Regions from separate parts of the Homo sapiens genome. Here regions 1 and 3 are each linked to region 2. Evidence: promoter capture Hi-C in 16 types of primary human blood cells and fetal thymus (Javierre and others, 2016). All regions are on one chromosome and are shown on one strand. The core of a region is centred on a gene start or on the middle of the fragment in contact, and the rest is flanking DNA. Distances in the headings are between cores, read along the strand shown. Region 1 holds the start of SLC35D3 (solute carrier family 35 member D3). Region 2 holds the start of MAP3K5-AS1 (MAP3K5 antisense RNA 1). Region 3 overlaps PEX7 (peroxisomal biogenesis factor 7).

Region 1 (2,897 bases), core at 116-2,615, 290 kb after region 2:
AAACTGTCTGGCGCTTAACGGTTACCTCGGCTGAGCGAAACCCTTGGCTGCTGCTGATTTAACTACAGGTCCGCGCGAGTTACTTTCCAGGGAACTGAATTCAGAACAAAGAGTTACCGAAGCCTTACTCCCTCTCCAAAATTAGAATTCCCTTTTTCTCTTAGTCATATAGGAAACACACAGTTCACAAGTCCTGTGGTGCAAAGGTGTGAACCCTGGCCCAGGGAGGTGGTGACTCTCCCCGCCCTCCGCCTGCCGGTTGTCCTGCTTCCGAAAGCAACCCACGACGGTCCCGCAGGGTGAGGGTTCCCTGGGATCAGTTCCCTGGGATCCGGAGAACGCCACGCGGAGTCTCCCTGCAGGGTGAGGGGCCCCGGGTTCCCGCCCCCTCCCCCTCTACTCTCCCATTCTGCGAGCGCAGCCAGCCTCCCCTCCCACGCTTCGGGAAGCGTCGCCCCCGAGCTCCTCGGTTCCTGGTGGTGGCTACTCGTGTTAGTGACTTCGTTTCTGCGCGTTTGCTTATTTTCATCTTTGCCTCAGTTCGAATGTGTCCCCGCCACCAGGCCCCGCTGCTGGGCGAGACCACTGAACCCCCTGAAAGCTTCCCCGGAGCCGCGCGCATAATCCCGGGACCCTCTCTGGAAGGCGTGCGGAGAGCGGTGCGCGTGGCCTGGCACCGGAAGGAGCCAGCTTCCGGGCTCCGAGGCACCCCCTGGACAGCGCCCCGGGCCGCGGGTTCCTCCTCCGATGCCCGGGCGTCGTCGCCGGGATCGGGAGCTTCGGGGGCCCGCCGGCACCGACGGTTTTCGCTTCCCTGGCGGGCAGCTGGACGAGGTCCCGCCGCTGCACCGGGAGGGACAGTGGGTGGAAAAAGCCGCTGCAGCGCCGGGGCGAGGGGGCTGGGGGCGCCGTCACTTGTTGCGACCAATAAACGGCGCTCGATCCTGATGCGCTGTTTCTAAAATCTTTAGCTGTGTCCCGATCCCTCCAACCCAAGCCCCTCGGCCAGGAGGAAGGGGCAAGCGAGAGCCGCTGGCTCTGTGGGGGGAGAGGGGCGCCGCGCCCCAAGAGCCCCCGTCCCGCCCTGCGGCAGCCGCCCCGGGGCGCCCAGCCGCCCGCTTCCCTCCGCAGAGCGTCTTCCCTGACGGTGAAACCGCGCGGGACACAACCCACCGCGGCTCATCACCCACTTACAAATAGCTGTCGCTAGGATTCCCGCCACTCCTCTCAGACCGGCCCCCCCGCCACCTCTGCCACTTTTCGGAGTCCCCCGCCCTCGTCACTGCCTCCCCGGAGCTGCGGGGCAGTCGGACGCAGAGCTGCCTAACCGCAAGAACGCCTGGCCGGAGCTGCCCTCTGCAGCCGAGCCGGCGCCCCCTGCCCTTCGCCGCCGCGCTGGGCGGGCGCCCCCGCCGCCCTCACTCCGCTGCTCCCGGCTCCTCGCGCGCAGGTCGCGGAGCTCCGCCACCGCTGGGTGCGGCGAGGCCGGCGCGATGCGGCAGCTGTGCCGGGGCCGCGTGCTGGGCATCTCGGTGGCCATCGCGCACGGGGTCTTCTCGGGCTCCCTCAACATCTTGCTCAAGTTCCTCATCAGCCGCTACCAGTTCTCCTTCCTGACCCTGGTGCAGTGCCTGACCAGCTCCACCGCGGCGCTGAGCCTGGAGCTGCTGCGGCGCCTCGGGCTCATCGCCGTGCCCCCCTTCGGTCTGAGCCTGGCGCGCTCCTTCGCGGGGGTCGCGGTGCTCTCCACGCTGCAGTCCAGCCTCACGCTCTGGTCCCTGCGCGGCCTCAGCCTGCCCATGTACGTGGTCTTCAAGCGCTGCCTGCCCCTGGTCACCATGCTCATCGGCGTCCTGGTGCTCAAGAACGGCGCGCCCTCGCCAGGGGTGCTGGCGGCGGTGCTCATCACCACCTGCGGCGCCGCCCTGGCAGGTGAGCGGGCCCCCGCGCCGACCCCCAGCCGACCCCACCCACCCCGCTCCGTCGGGCAGAGACCGCGGGGATCACTGAGTTCAACGACCTCACTTCCAGATGGGGAGACTGAGGCAGAGAGAGCCGGAGAGCTTTGAGAGTGGTCGCTCAGCTCGCAAAAGGGACTTCCGAGACCCAGAGAGCTCCCCAGCGCCCCACCAAGTCCCCCTGCCCCCTAATGTCCTGGCTTCCGACCCTCGCCCATGCTTCACCCGGCATCGCCCTTCCTGTCGCCCCCTCTCCTGGTCTTCCCCTGTCACCCCATTCTCCGGGAGAGGTGGGAGGGCCGCCTGAGCCTGGGAGCTGGAGTCCTCCAAGCCTGGACCAAGCCGGAAGGAGGGGGCCGTGAACTTCCTTGGGTCACGAGGGGCTGGAATGGAGGTGGGGGATGGGGGCGAAGCTGAGGGTTCCCGGGGCTACTGCGGGGTGTCTCGTGCTGCGCAGGGGGCTGCGGCCCTGGGGCAGACGACCCAGGTGCTGAGCGAGACGAGAGCCTGGGCAGGGGGAAGCTTCACTGGGGGCCAGAACAGGCGTTCTCCCCCGCGCCTGGCCCGCTCCGGGTTGCAGGCCACTGGCTGGGGCTCCCTCTCCCTTTGGTGCCCCACGGGGCAGGGGCTCCGGGGTGCAGGTACCACGCGCCCAAGTGACCTCGGTGCCAGCTCGGGGAAGCCACAGCACCTGCCCCGAGGGCATCTGCGCTCTCCGGGGCCTTTGTCTTGGACAGAGGAAGATGGAGTGACCCGGGGATATGGCGGGAAGGCGCTCTGAGCACTGAGTTTGGCTGTCGCATTTGACACGGGTGGCCGAGGGACGGCGGGCGTCTGTCACTCAGGAATCCGGTGGGCAGAGCTGGGGCGCGAACCCAGTCTCCTTTCCTACCCGACGCGTTTTCCCCGTGGGTCCCCGCCCACGCCAACCTGCTGTCT
Region 2 (2,916 bases), core at 36-2,535:
ATGGACCAAGACAATGCCCTTCAAGATCTTACGGCTACCTCTGTCATCCTCGTCTGGACACTTGAGCTCTTCGAGACTTGGGACTTCATCCTTAATTACTCTATCCCCAGTTTTAGCATGTAGCTTGTAGTAGATGCTCAGTAATTATTTGCTTAACTAATTAATCAAGTTATAGAAAAATGTGATGAGAACTTTTTTAGAAAAGAACTAGATCCCAAAACAAAACATTTAGAGTCATTATTGGTTTATTCTTGGGTGAAAGCATTTTTCCAATAGATATATTTAAATCTTTTTTTTTTTTTAAAGAGTGTTTTGCTCTGTCGCCTAGGCCGGAGTGCAGTGGTGCCATCATAGCTCATTGCAGCCTTGAACTCCTAGGTTCAAGCAATCCTCCCACTTCAGCCTCCTCAACAGCTGGGACTTCAGGTGTACAGCACTATGTCCAGCTAATTTTTTCTATTTTTTGTAGAGATGGGGTCTTGCTATGTTGCCCAGGCTGGCCTTGAACTCCTGGCCTCAACTGATCCTGCTGCCTCGGCCTCCCAACCACTGGGAGTACAGGTGGGAGCCATCATACTCAGCAGTTTTTTTTTTTAAAGAGATGGAGTCCTGCTATGTTACCCAGGCTGGACTCAAAGTCCTGGGCTCAAGTGATCCTCCCAAATAGCTGGGACTCAGGTGCACACCACCAGGTCCAGCTCTACAACAGGTATGCTTATATAGAAGAGTGAAGAATACATAAACCTTGATGAGGCTGCTAAAGTTTTAATTTCCCCTAGGAATCTAAGGCATCAGAAGACTATTTTTTAAAAGATTACGTATTAGATACAGATTTAAAAGATTATGTATTAGATATAGAAGATTAGATATAGAAGCTGACTCCTGTTAAACAAAATGGTGATAGTAAAATGAAAAGGAATTGTAAAAAGAGCAGTGTTATTTAAGTAAAACCATCTCTGTGGGTAATTGCTGCTTTGTTTTTCTATCTCCCCTTTCTATTCTTACGAGATAAAGATAGAAATTGAAATGGCAGTTTTGAAAGAAAGCTGAAAAGAAACAAGAGACTGGTTCAGCCTAGAAGGACAGAGAATCATCTATGTAATGTCCAGGAATAGTAGAAGAGAGGGTTTTAAAAAATAAAAGGTAACATTACATTGCTTATATATTTTGCATTCTATTTCTATGGTAATAGGTTAGCAAATCAGGTTGTTGCTAAGGGAAACAAGAATTTCATTCTGAGGCAATCATGAGAATTTTTCTAGAATCATCTCTTTATTGCTGTCTGCTCAGAACAATCAAAACTGGTAGCGGGAAGAGAATCAGTGTAGGAAGGCAACATTGACAAGGCCAAACAACGAAGTGGTGACTCACTGAGTCCTTGCACTCTCGAAGGAAACAACCACCTTAGAAAAAACCATGCACTTTCGGCGGGGGCTTAATCACATTAGGTGAGTAATCACCTCAAAGACCCAAATGGCAGCTCTGTTAATGTTCAGTCTGTATGGCCTTCTTTATATGTAAATGCCAAAACATTAATAACTACTAATAACATTAATAGAATGCCAAAAACACTGCAGGTACAAATATCTAGTGTGATGGATCTCTCCTCCCTTAGATCTTTACTCACATCTCACCTTTTTTTTTGAGAAGGAGTCACGCTCTGTCGCCCAGGCTGGAGTGCAGTGGCACAATCTCAGCTCGCTGCAAGCTCCGCCTCCCAGGTTCACGCCATTCTCCTGCCTCAGCCTCCCGAGCAGCTGGGACTACAGGTGCCCGCCACCACACCCAGCTAATTTTTTGTATTTTTAGTAGAGATGGGCTTTCACCTTGTTAGCCAGGATGGTCTCAATCTCCTGACCTCATGATCCACCCGCCTTGGTCTCCCAAAGTGCTGAGATTACAGGTGTGAGCCATGGCGCCCGGCCATATCTCACCTTCATTTATTTATTTATTTATTTATTTATTTATTTATTTATTTATTTAGAGTCTCACTCTGTCGCCCAGGCTGGAGTGCCTAGGTTCAAGCGATTCTCCTGCTTTAGCCTCCCGAGTAGCTGGGATTACAGGCGCTTGCCACCATGCCCGGCTAATTTTTGTATTTTCAGTAGAGATGGGGTTTCGCCATTTTAGCCAGGTTGGTCTCAAACTCCTGACCTCAAACAATCCAACTCCTCTGCCTCCCAAAGTGCTGGGATTACAGGCATGAGCCACCACACCCGGCCTAAATCTTACCTTCTTAATGAGCTTCCCAGGCCTTCCTATCTAAAATTGCACGTCCCTGCTACACTGTAACTTCCTAAACCCTTCCCTGGTTTATTATTCTCCTTAACCCTGATCACCATCTAACATACTATAGATGGTATTTTACTTATTTGTGTTTATTGTCCGTCTCTCATTAGAAAGTAACCTGAGTCTACAGCTATACCACCCTGAATGCGTCCAATCTCTTCTGATCTCGGAAGCTAAGCAGAGTTGGGCCCGATTAAGACTTAGATGAGAGCATGTAAGCTCTCAGTGATAGCAGGAATTTCTCTCCATTTTGTTCTCTGCCATCTCTCCAGCACATGGAATGGTGCCTACCATTCAATAGCTGTCCAAAAATATGTGAGTGCATTAGTGAGATCCATTTGGACCCACTGATGTGGATGAAGATGATTTTAGGCTGAAAACATCAGAAAAACAGCAGCAGCAGAAAAAAACCTTATCTAAATTTCTTTTGCGGACATAAGCAATGCCTCCTAAAATACATCTGCCATTTATTTCCTCTCCAGGAGGTTAATGACCAAAGAGGAGATAGACCACTTGCACCTAGAGGAGATGTTGCATAAACAAAACCTTATCAAAACTTTCTGTTCCTCACACTTATTTCTCATTAGTCTCCCACCATACACTTTCTTAAAGTCTTAACCCTCTTTC
Region 3 (3,193 bases), core at 98-2,597, 260 kb after region 2:
GTCAAAAGATAATATCTGAAAATGACAAAATAAATGAGCTCCATGAGCATATTCTTTAGAAATATAGAGTAAAACATTAGAAGAAGCAACTAAAAGAATTTAGAGTGATTGCCTCTGAGGTGAAAGATTGAGGAAGTACGGCAGGAAGCTGCTGTTTTCTGTTACAAACCTTGTAGAATTAGTTGACTCTAATGTGTGCAATTATAGTTTTTAAGAAAAAGATAATTGAGCAGAAAAACCTGTCTTTCCCTCTCTCCGTTATTTGCACACATAGTAAGCCTATTTACTTAGACCAACTGGGTACTGCCAGTCAGCTGGTAGTAGTTTACACAGTTCCCAGAGAGCATAAGGATGAATAATACACCCTTTGAGGTCTGTCCTGAAACCCTAGTCAAGAGTGTGGCAACACTAAATATTCTAAAATGGAATTCTTAGACATTGGACTTAATGGAATGAACCACGTGGAGATTTAAAAAACCGTAATTATTCATCTATTTTCATCCTAAATAAAATTCAGCAGAGTCCCTTATCTTTCTCCAGTATATTATTTACAGTATGTGTGTCTGTGCACACATGTGTAAAACAGAAACCATCCTTAGATAGCTTAAATATAAACAGGGAAATATTTCTCAGACTATGGGGTCCCCCAGAGCCCAAAGGCAGAAGCACGGTGTGCAGTGTGGCCTATGGAAGGCATTGAAACTGTACAGCCGACTTTGTCATTCCTCCTCCTCCTGCAGGCTGATTTTTTTTTCTTTTTTTACCTCAAGCTTTCATGTCCAGTTACAAGAAAAGGAACAGAATTATTTGGTCTGCTCTGTCTCTGTTTTTTTCTCTCTTTGTCGGTGTCTGTCTTCTCCCCCTCCTCACCCCCATCACCGTGTCCACCCTCTGCTGAGGAGAGAGTTGTTAAATAAAGGAGATCCTTGTAAGCAGTGCAGACATTCCACTACATGACAGCCTGAGTAGGTTTATTCATAAATGCTTAGCTGCAGAGATGAGGACATTAAGTATTTCATGGTAATGTCACTAATAAATGACCAAAGCATAGGCAGCTGCTGTAAGCTTAATGATTGTCAACATTTAGGTGTGGGGTGAAGTTCTAAAGCAACCCCATGTGGTCACATTATCCACTGGTGAAATGCTCTTTTGCTCTAGGTGGGTGCATTTTGGTGCTACCAGTTACGCTTCAGATGTACACAGACTATTCTTATCCTTAAGATAGTGATACTATTTCATGAGTAGAGTTCTTCCAGTTTTACTTCTTTTTTAGTCAAGCATTTATTTGAAGCTGTATTGCAAAAATTATTTCATGATTCTTTGATTTGTACCAGTAAGCAATACACAAACCGCATAGGAGTTTTGCCTCTTTTCCTTTATCTCCTCTTATTGAGATGTGGCATTCTTCAGAAAGTCATCCAGCATCCCTGTGGATCTCTGCCATAAATACTCTCAGAGCAGGCCTTCCATCAGCCTGATGATTTTCTTTAATTTGTCAGAGTACTCTAGGCTTTGTGGTATGTGGTTCCCGGGCTTAATGTTTACTGTGATGAAGTAAAGTCTGCTTCTCTAAAATACTGATCTGATTAGAGTTTTCGATGAAATATTGTGATGGACTCATTTTGAGAAGGAAGCTTAAGTCTAGAATTTTATCATATGTAACCTTCAAAGTTTGTAATTGTGGAGTTTCTGGGTATTAGTGATTGAGCATTCCAAGAGACACCTTTGAAAATTGTTCAGTAGTTTTTCACAATTGATCATGTATTCTTCATTTAGCAGGTAGTTAGGGTTTTTTTCTGTTTTAAACTTTATTTTTATTGTTATTAATACAAGTTCCAAAACCAAAAAACAGTTTTTAATCCAGTCATGCAAATAAATGAATGTTACCATCAGTAAATATTTTTGAGTGAATGAATAGTTTAACTCTATAAAATTGTTCAACAGCCCTTTTTTTTTTTTTTTGAGACAGAGTCTCACTCTGTTGCTCAGGCTCACTGCAGATCACGGTTCACTGCAGCCTCTACCTCCTGGGCTCAAGCGATCCTCCTGCCTCAGCCTCCCAAGTAGCTGGGACTGTAGACATCCACCACCATCCATGCCTGGCTAATTTTTGTATTTTTGGTAGAGACAGGGTTTCATCACGTTGCCCAGGCTGGGCTTGAACTCCTGGCCTTAAGTGATCCACCCGCCTTGCCCTTGCAAAGTGCTACCGGGCCCGACCACTTCTATTTTTTAATCCCTTCCAAAAATGTTACAGATCGTAAAGTAATAGGCCCATGAGTCCATGTGTTCTATAGGGGGTTCATTGCAAAAGGATGGAAATCTGAGTGATTATAGAAAGAGAGTTGAGTGATACATAAGTTAGAAAGAGACAGCAGAGTAGACTAGAGGATGCAATAAGTGCATATAAAAAATATTAAAAGAGAGAAAAGAAAATTCCCAAAGTCCTTGCCATGGTAGTTCAGATGTATTCTGGCTCATAATTTCCTTAGGATTTTTATTGTAAGTGGCTGACTAATGGACTCTTGGCATGGGCTTTGGCTTATGAAATTCTTTCTGTAGTTTGAAGAGTTTAGGGGATACCTGACTTGGTCCATGCCTATTTGAACTTTCAGGGTGTTAATCAAAACTGCCTGAAGAATTGCAGATCCTGCCCACCTATATTTAAAATTTTCTGGCATGACCTAGGCCTAGAGAAAAAAATGTATGGTGCCATCTTTTTTAGTAGAAAAAGTACTAGACATGATGTCAGGAGAGTCTGTGTTTTGGGGCTGCCATTTATTAGCTCTATAACCATGGATTGCTTAATTTCTTGGATCATATTGTCTTCACCTTTGAAATGAGGATTATACCCATTGTATATTTATTTGCTCATTCATTCATTCATTCATTCATGAGTGCCCATAAATTCTTTGGTTGACCATGTGGCAGACACTTTTATACATGCAAAAGATACAAAGAATAGGACACTGTCCCTGAATTCAAGGAGCTTATTGCCTATTAAAGGAGGATAGATTTGTATTAAGAAATAAATAAATGCATGGAAATATTATGAGTACTATGAATGAAACAAGAAACATGAGAATCTTTTTTGATGTCTTCTGTTTCATTAATCACCAGGTTGTATTAATTCTTCTGCCTAAATAAATCTCCAATCCATCAACTTTTCTTCATCATCACAGTCAGTACCTTA

Evidence for each region. The method cuts DNA at HindIII sites, captures the fragments that hold promoters and counts their contacts. A CHiCAGO score of 5 or more calls a contact.
Region 1: the fragment with the promoter of SLC35D3 here is called in contact with the fragment with the promoter of MAP3K5-AS1 in region 2 in 16 of 17 cell types (activated CD4 T cells, non-activated CD4 T cells, total B cells and 13 more); the score reaches 18.5 in activated CD4 T cells.
Region 3: a contact is called between a fragment that was not itself captured here and the fragment with the promoter of MAP3K5-AS1 in region 2, in 1 of 17 cell types (total B cells). The highest score is 5.4, in total B cells.

What each region holds. Positions count from the first base shown.
Region 1 is chr6:136,920,936-136,923,832 of GRCh38, forward strand. SLC35D3 (solute carrier family 35 member D3) reads left to right here and starts at 1,366. Exons shown (of 2, transcript NM_001008783.3): 1 at 1,366-1,932. The coding sequence starts at 1,494. RefSeq lists an enhancer at 388-894. The HindIII fragment of the contact is 1,879 bases long and covers 600-2,478 here.
Region 2 is chr6:136,627,829-136,630,744 of GRCh38, forward strand. It overlaps MAP3K5-AS1 (MAP3K5 antisense RNA 1), which reads left to right and starts at 1,286. Exons shown (of 3, transcript NR_125858.1): 1 at 1,286-1,448. All of the region lies in intron 14 of MAP3K5 (mitogen-activated protein kinase kinase kinase 5), which reads right to left. It also overlaps the pseudogene RNA5SP219. The HindIII fragment of the contact is 14,560 bases long and covers 1-2,916 here.
Region 3 is chr6:136,889,705-136,892,897 of GRCh38, forward strand. All of the region lies in intron 8 of PEX7 (peroxisomal biogenesis factor 7), which reads left to right. Among named protein-coding and RNA genes, the nearest start is that of SLC35D3, 31 kb to the right of the region's middle. The HindIII fragment of the contact is 569 bases long and covers 1,064-1,632 here.